5 separate regions of the Homo sapiens genome follow, and all the other regions are linked to region 5. Evidence: promoter capture Hi-C in 16 types of primary human blood cells and fetal thymus (Javierre and others, 2016). All regions are on one chromosome and are shown on one strand. Each heading gives the region's core, a stretch centred on a gene start or on the middle of the fragment in contact. The rest is flanking DNA. Distances are from core to core; before and after follow the strand shown. Region 1 overlaps SYNPO2 (synaptopodin 2). Region 2 overlaps SYNPO2 (synaptopodin 2). Region 3 holds the start of METTL14 (methyltransferase 14, N6-adenosine-methyltransferase non-catalytic subunit). Region 4 has its middle 100 kb from the start of METTL14-DT. Region 5 holds the start of SEC24D (SEC24 homolog D, COPII component).

What was found. The method cuts DNA at HindIII sites, captures the fragments that hold promoters and counts their contacts. A CHiCAGO score of 5 or more calls a contact.
Region 1: a contact is called between a fragment that was not itself captured here and the fragment with the promoter of SEC24D in region 5, in 1 of 17 cell types (monocytes). The highest score is 5.4, in monocytes.
Region 2: a fragment that was not itself captured here is called in contact with the fragment with the promoter of SEC24D in region 5 in 1 of 17 cell types (monocytes); the score reaches 6.4 in monocytes.
Region 3: a contact is called between a fragment that was not itself captured here and the fragment with the promoter of SEC24D in region 5, in 5 of 17 cell types (total CD8 T cells, non-activated CD4 T cells, total B cells and 2 more). The highest score is 6.9, in total CD8 T cells.
Region 4: a fragment that was not itself captured here is called in contact with the fragment with the promoter of SEC24D in region 5 in 2 of 17 cell types (monocytes and fetal thymus); the score reaches 5.1 in monocytes.

The regions. Positions count from the first base shown.
Region 1 is chr4:118,970,544-118,973,243 of GRCh38, reverse strand. The region is part of intron 1 of SYNPO2 (synaptopodin 2); the gene reads right to left. All of the region lies in intron 2 of SYNPO2-AS1 (SYNPO2 antisense RNA 1), which reads left to right. Among named protein-coding and RNA genes, the nearest start is that of SYNPO2-AS1, 13 kb to the left of the region's middle. The HindIII fragment of the contact is 3,448 bases long and covers 1-2,700 here.
Region 2 is chr4:119,021,578-119,024,300 of GRCh38, reverse strand. It overlaps SYNPO2 (synaptopodin 2), which reads right to left. Exons shown (of 5, transcript NM_133477.3): 2 at 720-871. Among named protein-coding and RNA genes, the nearest start is that of SYNPO2-AS1, 38 kb to the right of the region's middle. The HindIII fragment of the contact is 2,902 bases long and covers 1-2,723 here.
Region 3 is chr4:118,684,762-118,687,611 of GRCh38, reverse strand. It overlaps METTL14 (methyltransferase 14, N6-adenosine-methyltransferase non-catalytic subunit), which reads right to left and starts at 2,220. Exons shown (of 11, transcript NM_020961.4): 1 at 2,012-2,220. The coding sequence starts at 2,077. It overlaps METTL14-DT (METTL14 divergent transcript), which reads left to right and starts at 2,271. Exons shown (of 7, transcript NR_125930.1): 1 at 2,271-2,307. RefSeq lists enhancers at 1,682-1,821, 2,002-2,261. The HindIII fragment of the contact is 429 bases long and covers 1,340-1,768 here.
Region 4 is chr4:118,583,874-118,586,656 of GRCh38, reverse strand. No RefSeq gene overlaps it. Among named protein-coding and RNA genes, the nearest start is that of METTL14-DT, 100 kb to the left of the region's middle. The HindIII fragment of the contact is 1,193 bases long and covers 706-1,898 here.
Region 5 is chr4:118,834,638-118,837,490 of GRCh38, reverse strand. SEC24D (SEC24 homolog D, COPII component) reads left to right here and starts at 1,365. Exons shown (of 23, transcript NM_014822.4): 1 at 1,365-1,550. RefSeq lists enhancers at 1,203-1,497, 1,118-2,009 and a silencer at 1,202-1,691. The HindIII fragment of the contact is 6,235 bases long and covers 1-2,853 here.

The DNA of each region.
Region 1 (2,700 bases), core at 134-2,633, 140 kb before region 5:
ATCCTTGAATTAATAATTCTATAATTGATGGAATTCATATAATAATTAACAGAATTCACATAATAATATAGAATTACTAATTCTATAATTCTGACTTACTCAAAAATTCAAACGTTTTTCACTCTACAGATGCTCCTCAACTTACAATGGGACTATGTCCCACAAAACCCATCATAAATCAAAAAATACCATAAGTCAAAAATGCATTTAATGCATGTATAAGCCCATTGTAAAGTTGAAACATCATAAGTTGAGTTATAATAAGTGGGGACCATTGGTGTGAAAAAGTGGTGTGAATGGGGAGAAAAAGCAGGTGAGCAAGCGGGGATAGCCAGCTTACAAAATATGTATTTCTGATCCTGTAATATCTAATTTGTTTCCAATTTTCAAATGAAAGACACTGAAATTATTAAGCACTCACTATGTGATGAAAAGTAAACTGAACTTTGAGGAGATTTTTGTAGCTTGCCCAAGGTCACAGAACTAGATTTAAACTTAGAGATGTATAACTTAAAATTGTAGGCAGTGGGCAAAACAGTTTCACCCTTGCTGACTCTGTAAACCTGACAACAATCCTAAGAGGACAATGCTAGAAGTGATGGAGAAAAAACAAAGCTAGCACCTAAGAGACAAATTTGCTCGTTTCCCTTCTGAGTTAGTTTAGACAAACTGCCCTTACAGTTTGAAGGGCTTGGAGGAAAAGAAAAAAATACATAAAAAGTGTTTTATTTTCCTATTTGGGGAAATGTAAGGGAATCAGATTCTGCTTGAAATCTCAGAATTCCCTTTTCTTTTTTTTTGAGACAGGGTCTCCCTTTGTCAGCCAGGCTGGAATGCAGTGGCATAATCACAGTTCACTGCAGCTTCCACCTCCTGGACTGAAGCCATCCTTCCACCTCAGCTTCCTAAGTAGCTGGGACTACAGGCACGCACCACTACACCCGGCTATTTTTTCTTTCTTTTTTTGTAGAGACAGGGTCTCCCCATGCTGCCCAGGTTGGTCTCAAACTCCTGGGCTCAAGTGATCCTCCCACCTCTGTCTCCCAAAGTGTACAGGCATGCATGAGCCTCTGCACTCGGCCTCAGAATTGTTTTTATAAGTATAGTTAAATATTATTCTGTCTCCTCTCTTTCTTTTATGTTCTGAGGAAGTTCTCGTCAGAAGTTAGGATAACTCCTACATAGAATTTCTGTGGAGATTAAATAGAGTTCTACATGTAAGCCTACGAAGCTGTTCAAGACCACTGTAGAGTACTATGACGCTCACTGGGACCACACTATGAGGTCTATCCCTGTAGAATTATGTGATGTTGAAGAAACCATTATTTTCCTTCTTACACTTTCTCAAAAGAGGGAATGTCCACCCCTCTCATGGATGGGAGAACATAACACTTCTGGATCTCTCCTGTCACTTCTCGGCATGGGAAGAGTAGCTAATTTGATTAAAGAGAGACTGAGTCATTGAGCCATTATTTTTCAGAGACCATGGTTACTGCATTGAAAAGGAAAAGCTGGCCAGGTCTTTCTCTTACTGCCTCAGACCACTGTGTTCACAGATGATGCGCTCACTTGTGCTTCAGGACCCAGAAAGTAGGCAAACCCTGCCCTAGCAGGCCCAGCTAGCTTTTGTTCTCCAGGCCAGCTTTGCTGTCTATGAATGAATAAGTCAGGTTGCCCTTTCACTGGAGACCCATTGGCTTTAATGTAATAAACATTAATTCCTAAAAGATATGGAAGCGCCATTCTAGCCTCAGGTCTAAGTCACATTGTCCAGTGCATCTTCATTGTGAGTAAAACTGATCATTTCAAGTTAAAGCCTAAAAGGATGGTGGGATGTAGGAGAGCTACTCTAAGCCTTCAACATTTGGGACCTTTGAGATAGTTGCCCAGTCCTCTGCTGTCTTGAAAACACTGGCATAACATAACCATCCATGGATTCTGGCTCCTTGTTCTTAAGAGTCATGGGTTCGCTTTGTTTTCAGTTTAAAAGACACATAATAATTATCTGCTTATTGTTTAGAGTAATTTACTAAACATTAGCCAAAACAGCTAACTTAAGACACTGAGCAAATCTCAGAAATCAAATATAACATATATTCATCTTCATGTCAAAGAATAACATATTGCATTTTAACACGGAGGGAGAGAAGGAGCGAAGGTGCTCACGGGACCTTTCACTAGCACCAGAATGTGCTCAGTCCCAAAGTGACCCCAGCTTTTTGCCACCCCAGAGAGTGTTGGTCTAACAACAAGCCTGTCTAAGGAGACAAAGTATCATTGGGGGTCAAAACAAATGAAAAGATTCTGTGTCCTCTGGAACTCATGTTGACATTTCTCTGAGAAAAACTAAAGTGATCTTTTTGATTGATTACTTTATTCATTCATTTATTGACAAGGAGTTATAAAGCACCCACCGTGTTCTAGTCCTCTTCTAAGGACTTCTTCTCTGCATGTGCAAATGCTTCTGAGATGAAGGGAACCTTTAGAAAGCCTATGTGGTCATAGGCCAAATCCACCCACCTTGGTTCTAGAGTGTTTGTAGCTTTCTCTATTTTGGCAGTAATTGGATATAGCAAGACCAGTTTTCTACTACAGTCCCTTTATAATAATGAAATGAGGTTATCTGCTATGGGAAGTATATTTATCTTTCTATCATATACAGACAAATTTGTAAATAATATGTGGGGTGGTTAAGGTAAA
Region 2 (2,723 bases), core at 152-2,651, 190 kb before region 5:
TCAGTATGGATTGTACTGTGATTTGTACACCATAAAAATGTCAATGCTGTAGTTTTCCTTGTTATTGTCCTCATTGTTTTCTTTTGTTTTTTACATTTAAAGGTTTCTTTTATATTGTTAAACAACTATGTGGGGATGGTGGTATTTGAAGAGATTGAATTCCCAAATGACCTGTGTTGGTCGTGCAAAAACCTTATTCTAATCATCTGCTTTTGTCCATCCTCAAATATTGGTTTTACTGGAGAAATCCGGCTGCTTGTAAGTTTTTGTTGTTGTTTCTCTTTTCTGTCTCTTAAGCATCCTTTTAATGAAAAATTGTACAGTTTAATGGTCTAATATTTAAACATTTTTAATTCATCTGTGCATCTGATAATTACAATTGAGTGATTCTGATCCATCACAAAATCTTGACCTATCAAAGAAATATTAAGTTATGCTCAATATACTGAGCTTTCTAAGGAAGGAGCCTAAAATACCTAAGATTTTCAACAAAGTGCTTGAAACAAGCATTTTCAACTTAATTCTCAATTAACCAGAAAGTTTGGTTGACTAGAATTGACTATTTTTCAAACACAGTGGTGTTTCTGTTTAACTATACCTAACCTTCTACAAAGCACCCCTAATTTCTCCATAAATGACAAGTTATATATGTAGTAAAAGCTATAATCATTCCCATGTAGCTTCAAGAGAAAATACATATTCCAGCAAATCTGTTGTACCTTTTGATGAGCATTTGGAGAGAGTCTGTTATGCTTTCCATGAGCTTGATGACTTCAGGGTAGGTGAGATCTGCACAAGGGTTGCCATTGATGGAAACCACTTCATCTCCCTCACAGAGCCCAGACCCAGAGGCTTTGCTCTGATTTCGAATCTGAGTGGAGTAAAAAAAGAAGACATAGTAGAATGATATAATTTGTAAAAAGCAAGCCACCATCTCTGAGAAACAAATCTGTCAACAGTAACACCAGCCCTGAATTTTAATTCACCTGTTAACCTGTAAGACCATTTAAATACTTCTTACCACCTTATGAACACACACACAGCCACACACTTTATCATGTACCATAATATGAACATTTAATTCATAGCATTGTAAGTAAACAGGAAAAAAGAAAGTAAATAAATCAATGTAAAGGTACCAGACAGAATTAAAGAAATAAAAAATAGAGAAGAGTGAAAAAAGATGTTAAAGGCTTACATTGATGGCATTAAAAATAATTATTCAGGCCAGGCGTGGTGGCTTATGCCTGTAATCCCAGCACTTTGGGAGGCCAAGGCGGGTGGATCACGAGGTCAGGAGTTCGAGACCAGCCTGGCCAACATGGTGAAACCCCGTCTCTACTAACAAGTACAAAAATTAGCTGGGCATGGTGGTGTGCGCCTGTAGTCCAAGCTACTCAGGAGGCTGAGGCAGGAGAATTGCATGAGCCCGGGAGGTGGAGGTTGCAGTGAGCCAATATCGCACCATTGTACTCCAGCCTGGGCAACAGAGCAAGACTCTGTCTCAAAAATAAAATAAAATAAAATAAAATAAAATATAAAATAAAATAAAATAAAACATAAAATAAAATAAAATTAAAATAAAATAAAATATAAAATAAAATAAAATACAATTAAAATAAAATAAAATAAAATAAATAATTCAGGCCAGGCACAGTGGCTGATGCCTATAATCCCAGCACTTCGGGAAGCTGAGGCAGGTGGATCTCTTGAGCTCAGCAGTTTGAGACCAGCCCGGTCAATATGGTAAGACCCTGTCTCTAAAAAAAAAAAAAAAAAAAAAAAAAACCTACAAAAAATGCAAAAATTAGCCCGCTTGGTGGTGCATGCCTGTGATCCTAGCCACACAGGAGAAGTGGGAGGATTGTTTGAGCCAGGAGGTGGAGGTTGCAGTGAGCCAAGATCATGCCACTGCACTCCAGCCTGGGGGACAGAGCAAGACCCCGTCTTAAAACATTATTATTATGATGATGATAATTCCACATTGTAAGGTTTTACTCCAGTGAGAAAGTAACCTCCTGCATTACAATAAATTTTAAAATCCTTCCCATTGCCAAGGTGAATGAAACGCCATGACTATAAGAAGGAGGTACAGGACGGGGCAACTTGTTTGAGGAGAGAGCTGTATAGCTAAATGGACTGATAAAAACCATCCCAGTATAGTGGGGCACCAGGGAGCCTGGATATTAGGGAATATGTCAAAGAGAGAAATGCTTCATTGAAATCAGCTACTCCAGGCATGGTACTAAGCAAACTTTAGCAAAAAAGAAAGAAAAAAGAGATTACTTTGCAGAAAGTAAAAGCAGCCCTGCCATAAGCACTGTGTCATAATCTACTGGAATATTCTTACTCCAGTAAGAGATCAAAGACCAAGGGAAATGAGAGGTCAGGTCTATGCTCTCCTTGGTGGACCTGCTGGGCCATGGCTTAGCAGTGGCTCTGTTCTTCAGTCTAGAGAGTTGCAGCTCCTGTCAGCCTGCCCCTCTATCATTGCCTTAACTCGTTAGGTTCCAACAACACACATTATCTCCTTGTACCTTTGGGCCTATGAGTGATAATAGTTTCCTGCTCTCAATCTCTGGATTTCTGGGTGCTTCATTATCATTTGTTGGTTCCCTTAAGACTACCTTTAGTCTCTGCATTGCATTATATTGAATTCTTCTTTGAGCATGCCACCTATTTCCTGCTGGAGCCCTAAGTGATACTAATGTGCTTAGATTTCA
Region 3 (2,850 bases), core at 305-2,804, 150 kb after region 5:
TTCAAAATAAACGTTGTAAGTGTGTTTTCAAGTTACAATATTTTCCACTTATGATGGGTTTATCAGAACACAACTCCACCGTAAGTCAATGAGCAGCCTGGATGCCTATCACTCTCAAACCATCATAAAGTCAATTGTTAAGTCAAATGATAGTAAGTCTGGAACCATCTGTATTTGAAAATAAGACACTTTAGCCAATTTCCTGTGAAGCAATACACACGATTTAATATAAAATGAGCATTCCAAATCTGAAAATCCAAAATCCAAAACGCTCCAAAATCTGGAACTTTTTGAGTACTGACATGACATTCAAAGGAAATGGTCACTGAAGCATTCCGATTTTGAGTTTTGGTATTTGGCATGCTCAACCAGTAAGTAATATGCAAATATTCCAAATCCTGAAAAAAATCTGAAATCCAAAACACTTCTGGCCCAAGCATTTCAGATAAGAGATATTCAACCTGCAATAGCAATAACTAAAAAAGGCAGATAAGACAGTGTTTGCACAGGGTTGTGGGTACCATGTTAAACATTTTGTAGGCATCAGCTTATATAACTTATTTATTCTATGCTCTAATAAAAATCGATCCAGTTTTACTCAAGCTAAGTCTTACTATTTATAGACACAAGGCTGAACTTTACTACCTTAAAATGGTAACATAAATTTTGTTTGGCAGTTTGGAAAATTTTGCAAAATACAAACAAATGTAAACAAATAATGGTTATAAGGCTGGCTAAGTAGAGTGCAACCAATTCATAAAAGACTTTAAAAGGTAGAGCCCCTGGCATCTGCTGAGTGTAAAACACTAAACAAATAATTGTCCTATGAATGTATATTGAGTCAAATAGAAGTTTGAATTCAATATTAAGGAGTAAAACGTCTTCTGTGGTAGCAACAAAGAGCTACTTAACATTTTTGAAGATAATACGATAAAAGAAGTTGGCGAAAAGAAGACTTAGAAAGGATACTTGATTTGCCCAAGATCGTAATGCCAGCGGGATAAGGAACAAAGGAACAAATCTGACTCCAAGTTTCCACGGTTTTAGCCATATTCCACAAATCTGTTCATCAGACCATAAAGAGGATAGGTTTCAGAAGTCCATTTACTAAAACCAAGTTTCATTACTGAAAAATAACTGCAAGATGACTAATTACACTCTATGAGCATTGCTCCTATCACTTTTACTGATCTGAATAGTAGAATGGAAAATACAGCCTCGATTTTAAGTAGAACTGTGCACAATCTGTATTTTCTGCATGTGCACTCTACTAATCAGCAAATGTTAACTTACTCATACACAAGAAAGAAGTGAAGGACAATGGTTTAGAAGACAAGCTTTGGGGAGACAAACCTAGGTTCTATTTCCCAGCAGAGAAGTGAGCGACCAGGAGTAAAATTCCTTAACGTATGGAGCCTTTTTCATTACTTGATAAGTGAAGGTAATAATACCTGTTTCAGGAGATTATTGTGACTAACACAGAGTAAGATTTCAAATATTAACTGTGGATGTGACAAGGATACTCTATATAAGATGCAGAATCTAAAATTTACACTCAGGCTACTTCCAGTGTTGTCTTCAGAAAGATGTCAAAGAAAATACTGTAAACGTATTTCATAATGAAACCACAATCTCAAGAATTTGGGGCTGACGACGAAGAAAAGAAAGAAATAGATGACCATTTAATAGTGAAGAGAAATGTAGGGGATAACATGACACTCATCCTGGCGTGAACATGCCAGACACTCGGTGGGAGTTCCACAAAGCTTAAAGGCTAATCCTGGCATTCGGTTTAGCACCACAAAGACCGCGGAAGGAACTGGAAAAACATTCGGGACACCGCGAAAATTGAGAACTACAAAGGCAGAACCAGGGATCAAGATCGCAGGACCAGAAAGGCCTTAACAGCGGCAGGTAGAGAAGGGACAGAAAAAGGCGGGGTGTGGAGGGAGGAGGCGGCCGCGCACTCGCATTCTCGATCCCTCCCACAGGGGACACCAGGGCCGCGGACCTGCTGCGCGAGGAGCTGTCGCCGTAACTTCTGCCGCTCCCGGATCTCCTGCAAGCGGCTATCCATGTTCCAACTCCGGCTTTTCACTATCCCGAGTACTTGTCAATCTCCAGTGAACTCTTATCCAACCTTTCTTCCGAGTCTGTGGAACAAAATTCACCGGGAGCTTACGAACAGAGTATCCTCATAGCTTTCCTCAGTAGAGACTTCCGGCGCGGCCGGAATTGGCTCGCTTGGCCCGGAAGTCCCGCCTCCTTCTGGACGCTTGCTATGTGACGCCACTTGGAAGGGACCCAGTAAGGGATCTGTTGCGCCACAGGGGTCTCCAGGGCCCTCGCAGGTTGGGGTGGTCTGAGCTAGTCTGAAGGAGGACAGTCAGCTGACTTCTCCTTTATCTCTCTTTCCCAGGATAGCAGGTTCCCTTGGTGTATTACAGTTTCTGAAGTGTTGATTCCCTTTTCAATTGATTCCACAGATGACAGTCCTGACGTTTAAAAAATTGCCAGATAACCTTTAATTTTTTTTTTTTTAACAGAACACAAACTTAAGCCAGATTGCCTAGGATTGAACCTTGGCCTCTCACTTCCTAGACGAGTGGCCTTGGCTAGTTAACCACCTTCGTGAGCCTCAGTTTTGTCATCTGTAAAATGGGAGTCATAAGTGTCTACCTCACAGAGCTGTGATTGAAAGGATAAATAGCACCTTGCACATAGCGGTGTAGAAGTGCTTGTTATTGTTAATATTTTATTTACCTTCACGCAGGTAACAGCCACAACATCTGCCCACTCTTCCCCACACCTTACTGTCCCTTGAAATGTTTCCCATTTTACTATAGTATG
Region 4 (2,783 bases), core at 53-2,552, 250 kb after region 5:
CAAGTGTAGATCAACCCACGCCAGCTGGCTCACAGCTCCTGAGCAAAAGCAAGACAGCTGTTTTAAGCCACTGAATTTTGGGCTGGGTTGTAAAGCAGAGCTAACTGATTATTGATTGAGCCTCTGCGATATTCTAGCCATGGGTTAGAGGCGGGGCATACAGAGATATGCAAAACATAAGTCCTTGCCTCCAGGAAGGGCCGGTCTCACCAGGACATTGTGTCACTTCACAAAAAGGTACTTCTGACTGGGAGGAGGGTGCAGAGGGCCAGGCTTCCAGACTCGTTTCCAGCATCACTTTATTTCACAAGTTCAGTGTCGGTAACGTAAACGATGACTGCCGTGGTGCCGATAGAGAAATCTAATGAAGAGGTTATGGGAATTCTTTTTAAATTTGAGCTTTTGTCCAAACTCCAGCAGCTGCTTTTTCAAATTTTTTTTTTTCATTTTCCAAAACAAAGTCACTGAAAGATCCCTATAAACCTGTGGTTCTCAAAAGGCTGCAGAAGAATCCCAATGGGAAGTGAGTGGCTTTATTTTCTTGGAAATTCAGAATCCTCAGGGATTCTGATTCAGTCTGTCTGGGTTGCGACACTAGAATCTGCATTTTTTTCATGCTTCACTATTCTCCCTTTACCCAGCAAAATTGTGACGCTGTAAATCTAGAGGCCACTATTTGAGAAATCCTGCTCCAAATGGCAAGCTTCCTGGGGATAGTTACCATGGAAATTGACACGAATTTACGGAGACCTCATCCTGGATTTATTGGCAGAGCTCTTTGGCTTGTTCCTTGACTTCTGCAACCTTGTTTCCTGATCCCTGCGTCTTGACTTGATCTGCCTGGACTCTAGATATTTCTCTGAACTTAGTAGGTGCCTATTATGGTTTGGCTATTTGCCCTCCCAAACCTCGTGTTGAAATTTGATCCCAGTGCTGGAGGCGGGGCCTAACAGGTGTTTGGGTCACGAAGGCGGATCCATCATGAATAGATTAATGCCCAGGGTGCGGCATTAGTTTCCAGGAGAACTGGTTATTAAAAAAGAGCCCAGGCCAGGCGCGGTGGCTCATGCCTGTAATCCCAGCACTTTGGGAGGCCAAGGCAGGTGAATCACGAGGTCAGGAGATCAAGACTATCTTGGCTAACACGGTGAAACCCTGTCTCTAATAAAAATACAAAAATCAGCCAGGCGTGATGGCGTACGCCTGTAGTCCCAGCTACTTGGGAGGCTGAGGCAGGAGAATTGCTTGAACCTGGGAAGTGGAGGTTGCAGTGAGCCAAGATCGCGCCATTGCACTCCAGCTGGGCAATAGAGTGAGACTGTTTCAAGATTAAAAGAAAAAAAAAAAAGAGCCTGGCACCTTCCTGCTCTCTCTTGCTTCCTGTCTTGCCATGTGATCTCTGCACACACGTGCTCCCCTTTGCCTTCCACTATGAGTGGAATCAGCCTGAGGTTTTCCCCAGAAGCCCAGTCTTCCAGCCACCAGAATTGTGAGCCAGATAAACCTCTTTTTAAATAAATTACCCAGCCTCAAGTATTCCTTTATCGCCACACAAATGGACTAAGACAATGCCCAATCAGTGTTTTTTAAATGAATTAATGAGCTTGCCACCACCTGGATCCAGACGCCTCCCTGTCTGTCCTTGAGCACTGACTGCTACAGATCTGAGCACCGGCCTGATGCTGTGAGCTGGCTGCCCTGATCTGTCCCGAAGTTCTGAACCGTCCTCATTCCTTCCTCCTCCACCACACATCCACCCTGCTTGTCTTTCTCTGTTTCCCCAATACTCAGGGCTGACTTTCTTAGCTTCATGTTCATTGGGATCTACAGCCAGTGGGACATCAGCTGCCAGACCAGCATCTCTGCTATTATTGAGACTGGTCTGAACTCTCAAAGCTTCAACACATCTTAACAGATCTTAAGGAGGAAGCGAGGTGGAAGGTTTCTATCTGTAAATAAGAACTGGCCACCTGTGAATACACTGAGGCAAAACAGAATGAAATGCCATCCCAGAAATGTCACAGTCGGGTTGCAGCAGCCATATTTACAAAGCAGATTGAATCATTTAGAATTATTGAAGTCTAGTCCAGAATATGGTGCTGCTGGCTATTTAATAGGGATCGATAAATAATTTCAGCACATAGTGAAATTGAAACTGTGCGTTGCCATCTGGAACTTGGTGTTCACATGCTGATTAGAAACCAACTCACTGATGTAATTCTATTTCTCACAATATCCCTGAGCACAAAGGAATTTTTTCAGAAAAGACACACAGGAGAATGAGGTCAAGTCTTGTCTGCATGTTTAGGAGCTGCTCTCAGATAGAGAACAGGAATTTGTTTTGTTTTGTTTTTCTAAATGGAAATCTCTGTTTAGTGACCCCCTCCAACCTTGGGATTCTGCCTTTTTTAGGTGCTGCTTAACATTAATTATCACTTAAACTCATTGTAATTTGGAGACAAATAAAAGGAGGTTATGGAGTGACATCTTTTAGCCAGTAAACACATGGCCAAAGGGCTGCATGTAAATTCATTTGTGGTAGGTCAAGTGACAGGTTTGTTTTGTTTTTGTTTTTGAGACAGAATCTCGCTCTGTCACCCAGGCTGGAGTGCAGTGGCACAATCTTGGCTCACTGCAACCTCCACCTCCTGGGTTTAAGTGACTCTCTTGCCTGAGCCTCCCGAGTAACTGGCATTACAGCCACCCGCCACCATGCCCGCCTAATTTTTGTATTTTTAGTAGAAACAGGGTTTTACCATGTTGGCCAGGCTGACCTCAAACCC
Region 5 (2,853 bases), core at 116-2,615:
AAACAATTTAAAACAAAAATTTCAATGTGGGTTTTCAAACCTGATCAGTGTTGAAGCTGGATGTAGGCCAGATATCTTACCTTAAAATCTTTTTTTCTTTTTCTTGAGACAGGGTCTCACTCTGTTGCCCACGCTGGAACGCAGTGGTGTGATCATAGCTCACTGCCTCCTGGCCTCAAGCAATCCTCCCTGCTTGGCCTCCCAAAGTGCTGGGATAACAGGTGTGAGCCACTGTGCCTTGCCCCATGCCTTAAAAACTTTTAAGAGTGGGATAAATGGACCATATATCTTTACTGCTAAAATGACTTAAAATTCCTGCACAATTCATGTAGCATTTCGGGAGTAGCAACATCCCCATGTACGTTTTTACCTAGGCAGTTCATCAGTAAAGGTATTTGTCAAGTGGCTTTCTTGTAGCCGGGAAGAAAGTGCATGTTAAAAACAACAACACCGGGCTGGTTTTTACTTTGTAAGTTTGAGCAAAGTGGTAGCTATACCAAACCTGGGAGTGGCTGAATGTCTTTCTATTTAGCAGTGAAAGATGATAGGAAACCAGCCAGATGGTCCTGATTTTAGGGTGAGATAGAGAGGTAAGCTCCAGATCTCATATAGGTTGCCTTTATTTCTGAGCTGTTTCTCACAGGACGGTGAGCTAAACGCTGGGTGCTTTTCCATGCAGAGATTCCTGTTTGGGGCTGGGATCAGCCATCCTACTTCACAAACAAGGAATATGCGGAAGAAGGAGTATACACAACGCTAACAACCCCAATATCAATGGAAACCCCACTTCCCACACTTTTCCTTTGGGACATCTCCCCCACCCCCCACTCCTCCCGCGTTACACGTTGCCAGGCTGCTTTGGGCGTTCCTTCCTCTGTAGTGCATTGCACGGGTACGTCATCAAATGTGCGTGTACACGTGCCAGATTCGCCTTTAAACGGTAATCTCCCCTAGGTCCAGATCGTGTACTTTCCCGTATGTAACGGTAGTGCAGTACCTGAACTATTAGTTATTTAAGTAATACGTAATGAATGAAGAGCTGAAACTGCAACCTGTTGATGGAAGAATGAATGAACGCGCTCCCCTCCTTCCTGCGGGGCTGCGCCGAGAAAATACGGTTCTGATTTAGCCACGACGTTAAAGGCTTTGACCTGTAGGGGGAGGGGAAAGAAAAGACGGGAAAAAGAAAACCAAAAAACAAAAAACCGGAAAAAGGGAAAAAGCGAAAAGGGGGAGGTCGCTCGGCCGCTCGCAGGCTCAGCCCGGTGGCCCCGCCCCGCGGCGGCCGGTGGCTGTGCGCGTGCGCAGGCGGGAGCGCGGCGGCTGGTCCAAGCCCGGCGCTGGGGGCGCGCAGCCGAGAAAGGGTTTGACGTGGCAGTTCCCAGCCCAGCTGCAACTCCGAGCGTGAGTCCAGGCTAAGGGGACGCCGGCCGGGGAAGAGGCGCGGCGGGAGAAGCGACCGCAGCGGGAGCCCGGCCACCGAGGGCTGCCGGCACTAGGCGCAGAGCCGCCAGCGCTCGGAAGCCCGCGGGGTGCGGGAGCGGGAACAGGTAAAGCCTCCCACCCGCGGACGCCTTCATGCGGGACAGCCCTGCCCAGGCACAGCGGAGCGGGTTGCGGCGCCCGGCCCGGGGACGCGGCGGGAGGCCGGGTGCTCACCTGAGGCAGTGGCGGCGGGAGGAGAACTCATTCTTTGTTCTTTAGCCTTCTAGTGCAGTTTAATAGTGGGGCCGGCGGGATGGGGGAGCAGGAGGTGGGCGTGGGCATTTTTTACCCGCCCCCACCTTTTGCCTTGGGATGCAGGAACTGCCTTGTTAGGATCCTCAGTGGCCACCATTCGAGTGTCATTGCCAGCGGTTTTCTCATCTCCTTATCAACTTAATTTCCTTTTTTGAAGGAAGGAAATGTTAGAAATATTCATGGTAAAAATGGCAACTATATCTTGAAGCCTCGGGACATCCGAATAGTGAAACTGATCTGGCCAAATACGAACTTGTTCCAGGGTTAGAAGTGCACCTTGGCTAGAGTTGCTGGGTGACAGTGAGCCAGGGGGCCGTTCTGGGGTTGGGGCTCCCCAGATTTTGATCCTAGGCCTGCTTATACCAAGTGGCTTTCTGCCGTGTCGCCGCTTGAAGCTGAGTCAGGTTTCTTTAACTTGGTGCTCTGTGTGAGGAAGTTTGACGTGGCAAACTGGGTTGCGTGAGGAAGCTGATTCCTCTGAGGACCAGTTCAGAGGGAACTGGCTGCTTCCTGTTCTTTGGAGTGACCATCTCAGCCTCTCTTTTCTGTCACTCAGCAACAGGCTGCTACTTAGGTGTGTTCGTGCCGACTTCCTAAGTGCTCTTGGTTGGATGAGCTTGACCAGCGCTCAGGCTGCCACGTCTCTCTCTGCTAAGTGGGAGGAGGAAAAAGGGGTTGTCAGAAACAAAGTGGACCAGAAGGCCTTTGCCTGCCTCTCTCCTCTTTTTCAGTTCTCCCCTTCCCAGGAGAAGGAAATGATCTCATAATATTTTTACATGGTTGCTTTTATTTTGGAAACTTATAGTTTAATATGGAAACAAAATCAAATCACAAATTTTAGGCTTCAAATTTTTAATTTGAAATGTTATTTCTTGAATATAGACAGATTCTAAGTCTTAGCAGGTATCACTGATCTCTTATCTTAAATTGTAGCAAATAAAAGAACAAAAGGAAGAATATGCTTGTATGGGGCAAATAAACTGGAGATAAATTGTAGAATCAGTGGAAATCTGGAAAGGCTTCATTTTCTAAAAGAAGGAACTGAGGCTTAGAGAGGTTCTTCAGCTCATTCCATGTCACACAGTTAAGTATGGCAGACATAGAATGGAAACC